Regions from separate parts of the Homo sapiens genome. Here all the other regions are linked to region 3. Evidence: promoter capture Hi-C in 16 types of primary human blood cells and fetal thymus (Javierre and others, 2016). All regions are on one chromosome and are shown on one strand. Each heading gives the region's core, a stretch centred on a gene start or on the middle of the fragment in contact. The rest is flanking DNA. Distances are from core to core; before and after follow the strand shown. Region 1 overlaps ABTB3 (ankyrin repeat and BTB domain containing 3). Region 2 overlaps ABTB3 (ankyrin repeat and BTB domain containing 3). Region 3 holds the start of CRY1 (cryptochrome circadian regulator 1).

What was found. Contacts are between HindIII fragments. The CHiCAGO score rates a contact against its expected background, and 5 or more counts as called.
Region 1: a fragment that was not itself captured here is called in contact with the fragment with the promoter of CRY1 in region 3 in 1 of 17 cell types (naive CD4 T cells); the score reaches 5.9 in naive CD4 T cells.
Region 2: a contact is called between a fragment that was not itself captured here and the fragment with the promoter of CRY1 in region 3, in 2 of 17 cell types (activated CD4 T cells and naive CD8 T cells). The highest score is 6.4, in activated CD4 T cells.

What each region holds. Positions count from the first base shown.
Region 1 is chr12:107,576,455-107,580,769 of GRCh38, reverse strand. All of the region lies in intron 3 of ABTB3 (ankyrin repeat and BTB domain containing 3), which reads right to left. Among named protein-coding and RNA genes, the nearest start is that of PWP1, 110 kb to the left of the region's middle. The HindIII fragment of the contact is 2,483 bases long and covers 353-2,835 here.
Region 2 is chr12:107,405,641-107,410,047 of GRCh38, reverse strand. The region is part of intron 1 of ABTB3 (ankyrin repeat and BTB domain containing 3); the gene reads right to left. Among named protein-coding and RNA genes, the nearest start is that of ABTB3, 89 kb to the right of the region's middle. The HindIII fragment of the contact is 7,157 bases long and covers 1-4,407 here.
Region 3 is chr12:107,090,612-107,095,036 of GRCh38, reverse strand. It overlaps CRY1 (cryptochrome circadian regulator 1), which reads left to right and starts at 1,488. Exons shown (of 13, transcript NM_004075.5): 1 at 1,488-2,233. The coding sequence starts at 2,076. RefSeq lists silencers at 1,017-1,096, 1,427-1,656 and an enhancer at 1,197-1,346. The HindIII fragment of the contact is 9,786 bases long and covers 1-4,425 here.

The DNA.
Region 1 (4,315 bases), core at 345-2,844, 490 kb before region 3:
AATCAGCGCCCCGTGTTATTTCTATTTGGGGCTCCCTGATTGTGGACCCAAGCCTAAGGTGTCCGCTAGCACTCCCTTCCCATCTGCAGCCTCGTCCCTGTCGTCTTTCTGGAGCTCTTTCAGGCTTCAGCTCTGCCCAGGCAACATGCTGCCAAAAGGCTTTGGCACCTAGAAAAGGCTCTCTAAAGAGAGCCAGGTTAACCGGCAGCCTTCCCCCAGACCCAGGCTGGCTGGGCAGCCACCCAGTGGCGCCCACAATTCGAGGCCCTTTGGACCTTGGTCACACCCCTGAAACTCTGAGAGCCTCAAGTTCCCTGCCTGCTAATGGGATCATGGTAGGCTGTTGCAAGCTTGTTGCACGCATTGAGACAATGCCTACAACTGAAGGGCAACTTTCTAAGTGCAACGCATTTGTGCCATCTTCCTATTTCTTCCAGTGATGATAAACTCTGTCCTCACATTAGGATTACTGGAGAAGATTTTGGAAAAAATAATGACACTTGAGTCCTGTCCCAGGGATTCTGATTTAATTGGTATAGGGTGCAGCTGGATACAGGCAGTTTTCAAAACCTCCCCATGTGAATTTAATGTGCATCAGAATTATCTGGAGGGTTTGTTAAAATACGGACTGCTGGGTCTCATTCCCAGAGTTTCTGATTCCATAGATCAGGGGAGGTACCCAGGAAATGCATTCCTAACCAGTTCCTGATACGGATGCTACTGGTCTGCGGACGACATTCTCAAAGAACCTCTGCTCTAAAGTCATCATGAGAGGGCCTGGGAATCATCTGGCTCTATATCCAGAGATGGTGATTGTGTTAGAGTCCAAGAAGATAATTCTGATAGGCAGCCCCTGGGATTCTGATTTAGGTGGGCCAAGTACCACACTTTGAGAAATGCACTACGTAGATGCAAAAGGTTTCCTGCCATTCAGCAGGGGTCAGACTAGCATGAAGCCAGTGGGGTTCCCTGGGTGCAAAACTGAAGGAGGCTAGGTCATGCAAATATGTTCTTGGCATGTCTCTTGCCTCCCCCGGCCCTGGGGCTGCCATTCAGTCCAGCATGGCCACCATGGCATTGAGAAGAGGATGACAGGTAGATGGGGTTATAAGTCAGCCAGCCCCCTTGAGAAATGCAGATGTCATGAGCTTCCCAGAAAGTTTTTGGTGGCAGGTGCCAGTTTTCCTATAGTCAGATCTATTTATCCAATGTTAATAATATTCAGCAGCTCAGCCATTTACATTGATTCATGGTCTCATCTGAATGCCTAGGACCAACCTCTGTGCTAGTTATGATTATGCCCATTTCATTGATCAGGAGAATGATGTTGATCCAGGTTAGGTATCATGCCCTGGACCACAAGACTAGCAAGAGCTGGGAGTCAGACCCAAGTTACTTGACTATATAGCATGTGTAGAGAAACCCCATGTGATATTGACATTCTCTTGTCCAACTTCGTAGCATGCACTCTGTTACCCAGCATGCACCTGTCACCCCAGGGGAGCTGATCAGGTCATGGACTCTTGCTGGCATGCAATGGGCTGATTCCTGTTCATGCAGCTGAGCCTCCTGTCTGTAAGGCTTCAAGCCCTTTAAAAATCCACATCCCTCTTAACCTTCAAACCACAGGCTAAATCCCATTTCTCCCTAGACGTTCCTCCTGACTTTACCTCACTTGAATCCCTCGCATTGTGGGCCTCACCCCAGAGGACTCCTCTGGCCTTACCCGCTGCCTCTGCAAATGCCCCATTAGAATGTAAACTCCACCAGGGCAGGGAATGGGGACTTCTTGGATCACGGCTCCCGCCGCAGCTCCAGGATGGTGCCTGGCACACTGTAGGCACTTAATAAATATTTGCTCATGACACAGACTAAGATTTACCAATTTCTTACTGGGTGAAACTGATAAAATTGAGTTTCTGGACCTGTGGACCTATCTGTGGGGCAGAGTCCCAAGGATTTTCTGCCTGAATCAGCCTGCTTCTTAGGCTGTCTCCCTCATTCTCCCATTCTCTCCATCACCTAAACTGAATCAGGCACTCAATAAACACACGCTGACTTGAAATTGAATTGGATTCTACTGTCTCAGGTGAGCAGAACTTATTTTTGTCACAGTGTCTCCATTATTGTTGGAAACCAGCCCCAAATGCTCAGAGAACTCTCTGGGTTAAGTTTCAGAGGCGCCTCCCCTCATCATTCCTTTGCTCAGTGGCCCCAGAGCACAGTCCACAACCCTGAGTCCCTGGGGGGCTGCATCTCCATCACAGAACTGCCCTTGGGCTGCTGCCTTTCATGTTAGATGCCAAGCGAGGCCCAGGGCACACGGCCAATGCCTGGTGAATGCCAAAGAATAGCAAAAAAAAAAAAAAAAAAAAAAAAAAAAAAAGAAGAAGAAAGAAAAAGGCTCTGCTGCCTTCAAAAATAACACCTTTACCAAGACAGCTGGCAAGCTCCAGAATAAGACACCTTGAACCTCAGGATTCCAGCCTCTCCTGGAATTTTCTATGTACCTATTCTCTCCTTTCAACATTGCCTTCTTCTTGTCACTCTGACCTTAATAGTATATAAGCTCATGAATTCTTTGCCAGTAACTCATTTAAAAATCTTCTTATCTTGTCTACTCAGAGGGGAAAAAATAGCATTATTTGTATGTTTTCTTTGGAGGAATTGGAGATGGGAAAGAATTCGAGGGCTCTGAGTCAAGGAGAGGGTGGAGAATGCTGAAGAAAAAATCTTGCATTCTCTTTATACTTTTTTTTTTTAAGAGAACAATGTTCCACTGGTTGTCTCCTTTATTCTGAAGTTGTTTGAAGTGACTAAAACCCAAAAGAAGCTTGAGGAGCTCATGGTTTAGTGAAGTGGTTCTTAGACTTTGTTGAACATCAGAAGCACATGAAGAACTTGTTAAAATGGCAACAGCCATGATTTTACATCCAGAGTTTGGCTCCCATAAGTCTTGGGGTAGGGCCTGGGCATCTGCATTTTAAATAAGCTCCCCTGGAAATTCTGCAGCAAGCCAGGTTTGTTAATCCCCAACCACGTGGCCTGAGATGAGCAGAGGAGGGAGATGGTCCACTCAAACAGGACAGTGGCCATCTACATCTTCACTGTGGTGTTAGGAGAGGTATATAGGGTGCGACTAGAGGCTCTGGAAGGAAAGAGAAAGCCTTGATGGGCTTCCTGCAGAGTCAAGCCAGCATGTCAGCTCAGGAAGGCTGTTAAGCCCAGATTCAAGTAGGAGATGGAGAACATACACGGACATGGCCTTTCTCTGAAATGGTGAAGAGAGAGCTGGTGATGAGGCTGACCACCCAGGATGGAAAAGGAGTTTGGCTGGGGAGTCTGGGTACTAGAAAGAATGTTACAGGATGTGAGAAAGGCCTGGTTTGGGATTTTGCAGAACTGAATCCCAGCCCTGGATCTGCCCGTAACTCACTGGAGGGCTCCTCTGGCCCATCAACGTTTTGGCCTTCAGTGTCTTCACCTGTAAAGTGGGGTGGGTTTGCATCAGATGATCTATTTCAGGGCTCAGCAAACCTTTTCTGTAAAAGGCTAACTAGTAAGTATGTTAGGCTTTGTGGGCCATAAGGTCAGTCTCTGTTGCTACTACTCAACTCTGACATTGCAGTGAGAACAGCCACAGATGATACACAAATGAAGGAGCTTGGCTGGGTTCCAATACAACTTTACTTACAAATGCAGATGGTAGGTCAGAGGTGGCTACCATTAGCCTGTTCAGTTCTTCCCAATGCTAATATTCTTCGATTCTATTGGAAAAGCCAGTTGCTGGGGCCTTAGGAAGTACCTAGTGTGTAGACTAGGGAAGATGGAGAGAAGACCATGAAGGTCCTAGTGATAGGGACAGAAAGTTTTGGGGAGATCAGAAGATAGGACCCTCCCACAAAGAGGTCATGGTTGGATGCTTGAGCCACAGGCATATCCAGAGGTAGTAGATTAAAAGATATCAAGAGTTGCTGAGGGTGAGGTTGGAGACGTGGTAAAGAGTGCGGAGTAGGTATGGAACCTAGGAGTGAGGACATCCATGGGCTCAGGAATTCATCTCACATGCTAAACTGCCTTGTTCCAGGGTTCAGAGAAACTACCTGTTGTTATGGGCTGAACCGTGTTCCCCCAAATTCCTATGTTGCAGCCCTAACCCCCAGTACTCAGCATATGCCTGTATTTGGAGAGAGAGCCTTTGAAGAGGTAATGAAGTTAAAATGAGGCCATTAGAGTGGCCCTAATCCAGTCTGACTGATGTCCTTAGAAGAAGAGGAGATCAGGACACGAGAGACACCAGGGTTGTGTGTGCACA
Region 2 (4,407 bases), core at 1,597-4,096, 310 kb before region 3:
CTGGGCCAGGGCTTCATGGGTATGCAACGTGTTCAGTTGCTCAAGGCACTACATTGAGAAGGGCTCTATGGTTGATTTAATGCTCTGTTGTCACCATTTTGGGAATCTTAATAATTATTTTTAAACAAGAGGCCCTGTATTTTCTTTTCTTTTTTTGATATAGTGTGCTTCCTGTCTTTTTAAAATATTTTATTAAGTTCTGGGATACATGTACAGAACGTGCAGGTTTGTTACATAGGTAAACAAGTGCCATGGTGCTTTGCTGCACACATCAACCCATCACCTAGGTATTAAGTCCTGAGTGCATCAGCTATTTATCCTGATACTCTCACTCCCTGCAAACCCCTGACAAGCCCCAGTGTGTGTTGTTCCTCTCCCTGTGTCCATGTGTTCTCATTGTTCAGCTCCCACTTATAAGTGAGAACATACGGTGTTTGGTTTTCTGTTCCTGTGTTAGTTTGCTGAGGATGGCTTCCAGCTCTATCCATGTCGCTGCAAAGGACATGATCTCATTCCTTTTTATGGTTGCATAGTATTCCATGGTGTATATATTCACTAGTGTAAACAGTACTGCAATGCACATACAGGTGCATGTATCTTTATATTCCTTTGGGTATATACCCAGTAATGGGGCTGCTGGTATTTCTCGTTCTAGATCTTTGAGAAATAGCCACATTGTTTTCCACAATGGTTGAACTAATTTACATTCCTGCCAACAGTGTAAAAGCGTTCCTATTTCTCCACAGGAGAGGCCCTATATTTTCACTGTGCACTGGAGCCTGCAAACTACATAGCTGGTTCTGACTGGGGCTGTTGGCCACAACATCTTCACATGGCCCTTCCATGGGGCCTGGGCTCTCTCACAGCATGACAGCTGGGTCCAGGTGTAAGAGTTTCCAGAAAGAGAGACGGAGAGAAACAGAGACACAGAGAGACAGAAGAGAGGGAAGGTGAGGGGGACGGAGAGGGAGAAATATAGCTTAGCTGACTCTTCCTTTAAAGATCCACTCAGAAGTCCCTTTCTGGGGGAAGCCTTCCCAAGACCCACAGTTTCCCTAGTCATATGCCCTTAGGGCATTATGTTCCTTTCTGGCAGCTCTGTACTTTTTGGAGGGGTGGGCTAAAAGCCCATGAGAACAGGATCCTGGGTCTTGCTCACCACTGTGCCCCTGGCACCCAGCACAGCATCTGGTGCAAGGTTCAATCTCAGTTAACACTTGCTGAACAGATGGATGAATAAAAAGTCACCGAGGCCAGAGTAACTGACAGAGCTAGGATTTGAACCCCAGACTGCCTGACTCTGAGCCTCACGCTCTTTCCCCGAGGCAGGGAAGCCAGGGGTGGTCTCAAGATACCGAAGTCCAGTGCCGGGTTCCAAGGCTAGCTTTGCTGCTTAGGAGCTTCCAGACCCTCATTACACTCATCTGTACAATGGAAATCACAGATTTATGTAAGACAAAATAAAATATATGTGTAAAACACTTAGAAGAGTATCTGATACTAAGTGCTTAATAAATGTTAGCTATTCCTAACTCTCCCTAAATCTAGCCCAGCTCTCCTCCCCTGCCCCTACTGTCTTCCCAGAGGTGAGCCCACTCTTGTCACCCACAGTCAAAAAGCTCCCCAATCATACTGGGTGTTTAAACCATTTCCTGACAATCTTTAAATTTGCAAATTAGAAATGTCAATGCTGGTCTTGAATGAGCCCGATAAGGATGGGACAGCAGCCCACAGGGCTGTGGATTTTAATAAAAGAAAAATAACCAACAATATCAACTTTTTAAAAAGCACTTGATGTACACTTTCCAAATTACTTCTCTGCCTTTCTCTCCTTTATGTGCATTGCAGTTAAATTACCTTTCTCAGAAAATCTCGGCCACACAGAGCACGCCTATCTCCTCACAAAGCCGCACACATTTTTAGCATCTGCTTGGGGTTTTATTGTAGAGAATACAATACACGGCAAGAGACCGTTTATCATATTTGGTCTGCTTGCCCCTCATTTTTCCAGCTGTCAGTTTTATTTATTTCGTTGCAACGACAGGTTTGACGTGGAGGTTGGGGGTTGGGGGGAAGCATTCCAGGACTTTGCAGTCCAGCCTTCCTGCACCCATCCTCCATCACTGTACAACGTTCCTGGGAGGAAAATCCCATACGATATCCCCAGGCATAGATGGGAGAAATCTGGAACAGCAATCCTAGGAGAGCTGGTAGAGCTGAAAATACGCAGGACCTCCCTGAGTCGCCGCCATCACCAGCTGCTTACAATGATCTTCTGGGGGTTCTCAGGAGGCCCAATAGATCCTATTAATGTTCCCAACTCTTCAGCCCTGGCTTCACTCATGCCTCTTGCCATATGACTTTGCAGTTCTTTCCACTAAAGGGGAACTATTTCTCTATCCTTTGACTTGGAGTTTGACCATTTGATTGCTTTTCTGATTACCAACAGAATGAGGCAGAAATGAAGGCACCTGCCCCAGCTCAAGGCTGACGAGGCCTTGCCTGTTCACCGTCTTGCACTTCTGCAGCGCCATGAGAAGCGTGTCCCCTGGTAGCTGCTGGACACACGTGGAGCAGATCTGAGCCCAAACCTCAGCAAGGGGCCAAGCCTTCTTGGATCTGTAGCTTGAAATACAGTGGCCCAGCTGAGCCTGGAATATTTCAGCTGCCTCACCTGACCCACAGATATGTAAGCAATTATAAATAGTTGTTGCTTTTAGTCACTGAGTTTCAGAGTGATTTGTCGTGCAGCAAAAATACAGGAGAGGAGAAACAGCATCCACTGTGTGCTAAGCACTGTGCCAGGTATTTTACATGCATTATTACATTGAAGCCTGCCAAACCCTGGTGAGCTGGGGACTATTTTATGCCCATTTTACAGATGAGCAAACTGAGGCTCAGAGTGACTTGCCCGAGGTCATACAGGGGCAAGCACTGTTGTAAGTGCTTTATGTGTATTAACTCACTGAATCCTCATGACAGTCCTGGGATGGGGGCAATGGTATTTTAAAGATGAGGAAATAGGAAGGGAAAGATTAAGTGGCTTCCCCAAGGTCAAAAGCAGCCAAATTGCAGGGGTAGAGTCGGGACTCAAAGCGCAGGCTTCTCTGGCTCCGGAGCCCAAGCTCAGGGGACACCTAGAGGAACACAGTGTGAGCTGAGGCTGGGGGAGTTTAGGCTTTATACACCAGTGAGTCACAACCAGGGATAAGGATGGTAAGAATCAGAAAATCTCCTTTGTTTTTTTTCAAAGCAACATCTGGAGATCCATGTTTATATTTTGCGTTTTATTTATTTAATGTCTGGCTTCTCCCTGCTAGATTGTAAGCTCCATAAAGACAGGGATTTCTGCCTGTTTTGGTCACTGTCTTATCCCCAGAGCCTACAACAGTACCTGAGCAGGTGCTCTTTAAATAGACTGAAAGAGTAAATGAAGAAATGCTCCGTGAATATTGGCTATGGGTTAGTTGAGACCATCTCATGCTCTGAGCTCACTTGAGGAGCATGCATGGTGAGGTTCCTGGGCTCAACAGCAACCAGACTCCGAGTCCTGGGATGGTGGGACTAACTCTTTAAGCAGAAAAAGTAGAGCATCATTGGTTTTTATTTGTTTTAAGAGAGACAGGGTTTCACTCTGTGGCTCAGGCTGGAATATAGTGGTGTGATCATAGCTCACTACAGTCTCAAACTCCTAGGCTCAAGCGATCCTCCCATCTCAGCCTCCCAAATAGCTGGGACTACAGGCGCATGCTTTCATACCTGGCTGACTGGGACATCTTTAAGGAGCAGGCTAGGAAGTAGCCAGCTCCATTTATGGGGTGCTTCTGGTGCCAGGCACTGTTCTAAGCACTTCGTATGTGAAGCCATAATCTTTGCAACAACCCCATGGGACAGGTACTATCACAACCGTGTGCCCAGCCTGTTTTACAGATGAGGAAAGTGATACCCAGGCAGGTTAAGTGACTTATGCCCCAGCTAAGAGAAGTGGCAAAGCCAGAACTAGAACCCAGGAGTACAACTCAGCTCCCACGTAACCACAACCCTAAGCTGCCCCTCAAACAAACTAGAGGGGAGAAAGTACAGGCTTTCCAAGGTAATCTGGTCCAATGCCTTCGTTTACAGATGGGAAAACTGAGGACACAGAGTAGAAGCATGATACCCAAGATGGAGCTGGTGAGGAGCAGAGTGGGGACCTCCACTCAGGTCTCCAATCGCCTGGCTCAATCCCTCTTTCATGCAGACGATGGGCCCTAGGAGGACAGGAAAGAGAAGAGGCCAATTGCACCAATCCTGGGCAGGAAGACTTCTTTGGCTGGTGGCCATGCCAGGCCATGTGTCTGTTTTCAGCACAGCCCCCCCAGGGACCGGCTTCTCTTCCCAGCATAAGCTGGCAGATCAGATGCCTGC
Region 3 (4,425 bases), core at 239-2,738:
ACTCACTCACTCACTCATTCATTCATTAAATAAGCATTTGCCTATGTCAGGCTCTGTTCTGGTGTTGATGCAAAAAATAAAAACAAAAGAAAACTGAATACAGACCCAGTCCTTGAGAAATCACACTTCAGAGGGAATCAGAGGCACATTATTATGATAATAAGTACTATTACTGAGTTGGTATTGCTAGGAATGGGCACTTTTCAACTAATTTTCACGGTAGTGTGAAAAGTGATGTAACAGAAACATACTTGGAGAACCCAGGGAGGTCCTAAATTTGCCCTAGGGATCAGGAATACTTTCAGAAATTAGTTATTATTTCATCTGAGTCTAAAGGGATGCGTAGAAATATCCTAGGTAGCTCAAAGGTGGTAATATTGAGTACTGGATTCCAAAGAAGAGTATTTTATAGAGGAAAAAACAGCAAAGGTTAAGAGACAAATTGTAAACCCCAGGAGGGGTGGGGTTTTAGTCTGTTTTATTAAGTATCTCCTGTATCTCTAGTGCTTTGAACAGTGCCTAGTTCATTCAAAAAGTAATCATTGAATGAATTTAAGGGCATCATATATCTAAGGGATGCCATGGCCTGCAGTTCACTGTCGCTGGAAAAGTAGACAAACGTCCAGTTTCAAAGAGACCGGTAAACTACATTAAATGTAAGAGACGAGGGGTGAAAGGTTGATGATATATATCGCTAGTATTAAAAAAATTCCAGGAAGTCCAGGAATGCCTGGCATCCGTCCTGCCAATTACCCTTTTCCCCAGAGTATGTACAAGGGGGAGGAGGCACCCAAGGGCCAGGAGAGTGGAGGGGCACAGCTCCACAATCTCCAAAGTAGGGTTCTCTGGCCAAAGCAGGATTGAAGCACATGGTTTGGACTTGAAATGTACGTGGAGCCTCCCACTCTCCTCCTTCCACTCCATCCTCCCCTCACTCTCCGCCCGACTCCACCACTGGCTCCTGAAGGAAACCGGACAATTTCCAGGCCCTCCCCAAATCCCACGGGAGGAATCGCCGAGCGCGCTCCTGCCCGCCGGCCCCGCCCCCTTACCCTCTGGAACGCAGCGAGAGCGCACGCGCGCCTAACGGAGCAGCGCGCGCGCCCGCAAGCTCCCCGCATCCCCGTGCTCATCCGGGTCTCAGCGAGCCTCGGCCAATGGTGGCCGCTCATGGCCCTTGGGGGCGGGGCTAAGCCTTCCCTCACAAGGGGCCTGTGGTCAACGCGATTTGCTTCCAAGGGACGGCCACCAGTCGGCACAGGAAAGGGGCAGAGGCAGTGAGTTCAGCGTGTGGACGAGGGTCAACAAGTTTGGGATCAAGCGGCTGCCGCTCCTCCAAAAGCGACCGAAGCGCGAGCAGATTACCCCTCCGAGCCAGTGTAGTAAACACACTTCAGAAACGTGAGGTGCCGGTGGTCACGAGGGGAGCGCGCCCTCCAATGAGGAGCCGGGGGCGGGGCCGAGGCCGCTGACGCGGCGGCGGCGGCAGAGTCACCCGGGCAGCCTCGGGACCGGTCACCGGCCGGCAACCGTCCAGCGGCCTCGACCACCGCCTCTAGCCTCCGTTCCCGGTCCTTTCTCCCGGGCCGAGAGACAGCGTCGCCGACAGGGGCTCATTCCCCTCCGGTTCTCCTCGGTGACTCACCTCGGGCGGGCCGTTTTGTCTTTAGGGGCCGCCTTGGTGGGGCGAGGTTTCCGTGACGAATCTCCTGGGGCCGTCCGTGCCGGCTCGGGCCGTCGTGGCGGCTCGAGCTCCTGGAACTTGCTCAGGCTCCGGAGGTCCGAGGCCCTCGAAGTTATGCGTCGCCTCCAGGCGGTTGCGGCGGGCGCGGGCTCCTAAAGGGCGTCACACCCGGACTCCGCCGACTAGGCAACCTCCATTCATCTTTCCACTGCGCCTCCGGCGCCCCCGCCTTCTCCGGTCCCCTCCTCGGAGTCATTTTTTCCTGTTCCCCCTCTGCCGCCCTTTCCTCACGCCCCGGGTGAGGCAATTCTCTTGGAAGCGAAGGTGTCGGCTATGAGCCGGAGCCTCCTTCCTTGAATTTCTCCGTGGAGGACCCGCCGCGCCCCCCGGCATGGGGGTGAACGCCGTGCACTGGTTCCGAAAGGGGCTCCGGCTCCACGACAACCCCGCCCTGAAGGAGTGCATTCAGGGCGCCGACACCATCCGCTGCGTCTACATCCTGGACCCCTGGTTCGCCGGCTCCTCCAATGTGGGCATCAACAGGTGGCGGTGAGTCACAAGCCCGTGGGAAATGGATTTGGGTGTTTAATGAGTCTGATGTTAATGAATTCCATGCGATCCGCCAAATCTGTGAATTTAGACGTGGGACTGTCTTGCTTATACCGCTTACGAATTTTAGGTGCCCTAAGTATTAAATAGAATTGACTTAATACTTCTCTGGCCAAAGAGTACTGACGACCTGAAACACTCGGTCTTCATCAGTGAGTTATGTGTCTTTCTGTGCTAACTGGAGCTCCTCCCCTGAATTTGTGGAGAATTCTTAGTGCTGGAGTTAAAGAAACACCTTTCCTGTCCTTAGTGGCCATTGTATATGGATTCCCTTGGCCTTTTTGTGGCATTCGGAAGGATTGTGATGTTTCCTGTTTACGTTTGTGTCTAGGTAACTCATAGTATGGAGAAAAATCATTCATTCAGTACAGCAGGCTCCAGATCCAGTGTTCTTCCACCTTGAGGTTACTGTGGGAAAAGCAAGGGAAACAGCATTATCTGGTTTCTCTGCTCGGTTCTTTTTCTCAACTCCTCCTTGTGGTTGCCGAGACAAAGCACAGTTTTTCTTTCTAGGCAAGTTGTAGTCCTTCTAGGGATCAGAGCACTGAAAGAAATCTTAGAGATGCTTTATGATCTTTTCCTGAAACACCAGGCTACATGATTGTTAGGCCCCCTGGTGGAAATAAAAGCATAGCTCAACAGATAGACTCTTGATCACTTAGCATGTGCCAGGCACTGATTTAAATGCTAGGGATATAGCAGTGAGTGAAAGACAGAAAGTCATGTCTTCAAGCAGAAAGTAAAATATGTAGTATTTTAGGTGGTGATAAGTATTGTGGAAAAAAATAGAGCAGAGTAAAGGGATAAAGAATACAAGGGTAGGGATGGGGTTGCAATTTTAAGTATGATCGGGGGAAAAGTCACAGAGAAGGTGACACTTGAGCAGACCTGAAGGAGGTGGTGGGATGCAGATATCTAAGGGAAGACCATTCCAGGCAAAGGGAAGAGTAAGGGAAAAGGCAGAAATATGCTTGACCTTTGGAAGGAACAGCAGAAGAATCCAGTATGTCTGGAGCAGAATAAGTGAGGGAAAAATAGTAGACGATGAGGTCAGAGTTGACTTAGGGCCAGATTGAAGAGAGCCTTATAAGCAGTTTTCAAGATTTGGGTTTTTACTTAGTGAAATGGGAATAACTGCAGGATTATGAGCAGAGAAGTAATGTGATCTGACATAAGTTTGGAAAAGAATTTTTCTGCTTGTGGTTCTGAATTGGGGAGTGGAGGTGGACAAGAAGCAGGAAGTCCAATTAAGAAGCTGTTGGCATTCATCCAGGTGAGAGATGATAACGGCTTGAATCATAGTAATAATCGTGGACGTGGTGAGAAATAAACAGATGCTGGTTATATTCTGAAGGCAAAATACAGGGTATTTGTTGGCAGATTGGATATGTAGTGAGAGAGAAAGAAAAGGAGTTAGGCTGGGCGCGGTGGCTCATCCCTGTAATCCCAGCACTTTGGGAGGCTGAGGCCAGGAGTTCGAGACCAGCCTGGCCATCGTGGCAAAACCCTGTCTCTATTAATACTGAAAATATAAAAATTAGGTGAGCATGGTGGCGCATGCCTGTTATCTCAGCCACTCAGGAGGCTGAGGCACGAGAATCGCATGAACCTAGGAGACGGAGGTTGCAGTGAGCTGAGATCGTGCCACTGCACTCCAGCCTGAGTGACAGAGTACTCTGTCGCAAGAAAAAAAAAAAAGGACTTATAGTTTGGTGCTATATAAAAAGCACCAAAATTCAGTGCTTTTTATATAGTAGCAGTTTAGTTACTGTTTGAGAAAATTTTTGGCTTGAGAAACTGGAAGGATGGGGCTACACTTTGCTAAGAAAGTGAAGCCAGCTGGAGAAGCCATTGGGAGGGTGATTGGAGTTCTCTTTCATTAAGTCATTAAGTTTGAGATGTATTTTACACATTCAAATGGAGATAGCAAATAGGCAGTTGGATGTATCTGGAGCTCAAGACAGAGATCCAGGCAGGAAGTATAAATTGGAGAATTCATTAGTTTATAGATAATATATAAAGCCATTTATTCATCCAACCATTTATTGAACAAATATTTGTCAAGCACCTACTATATGCCAGGCACTGTTTTAGGTGCTAGAGATCCAGTATAAACAAAACAGCCCCCAATT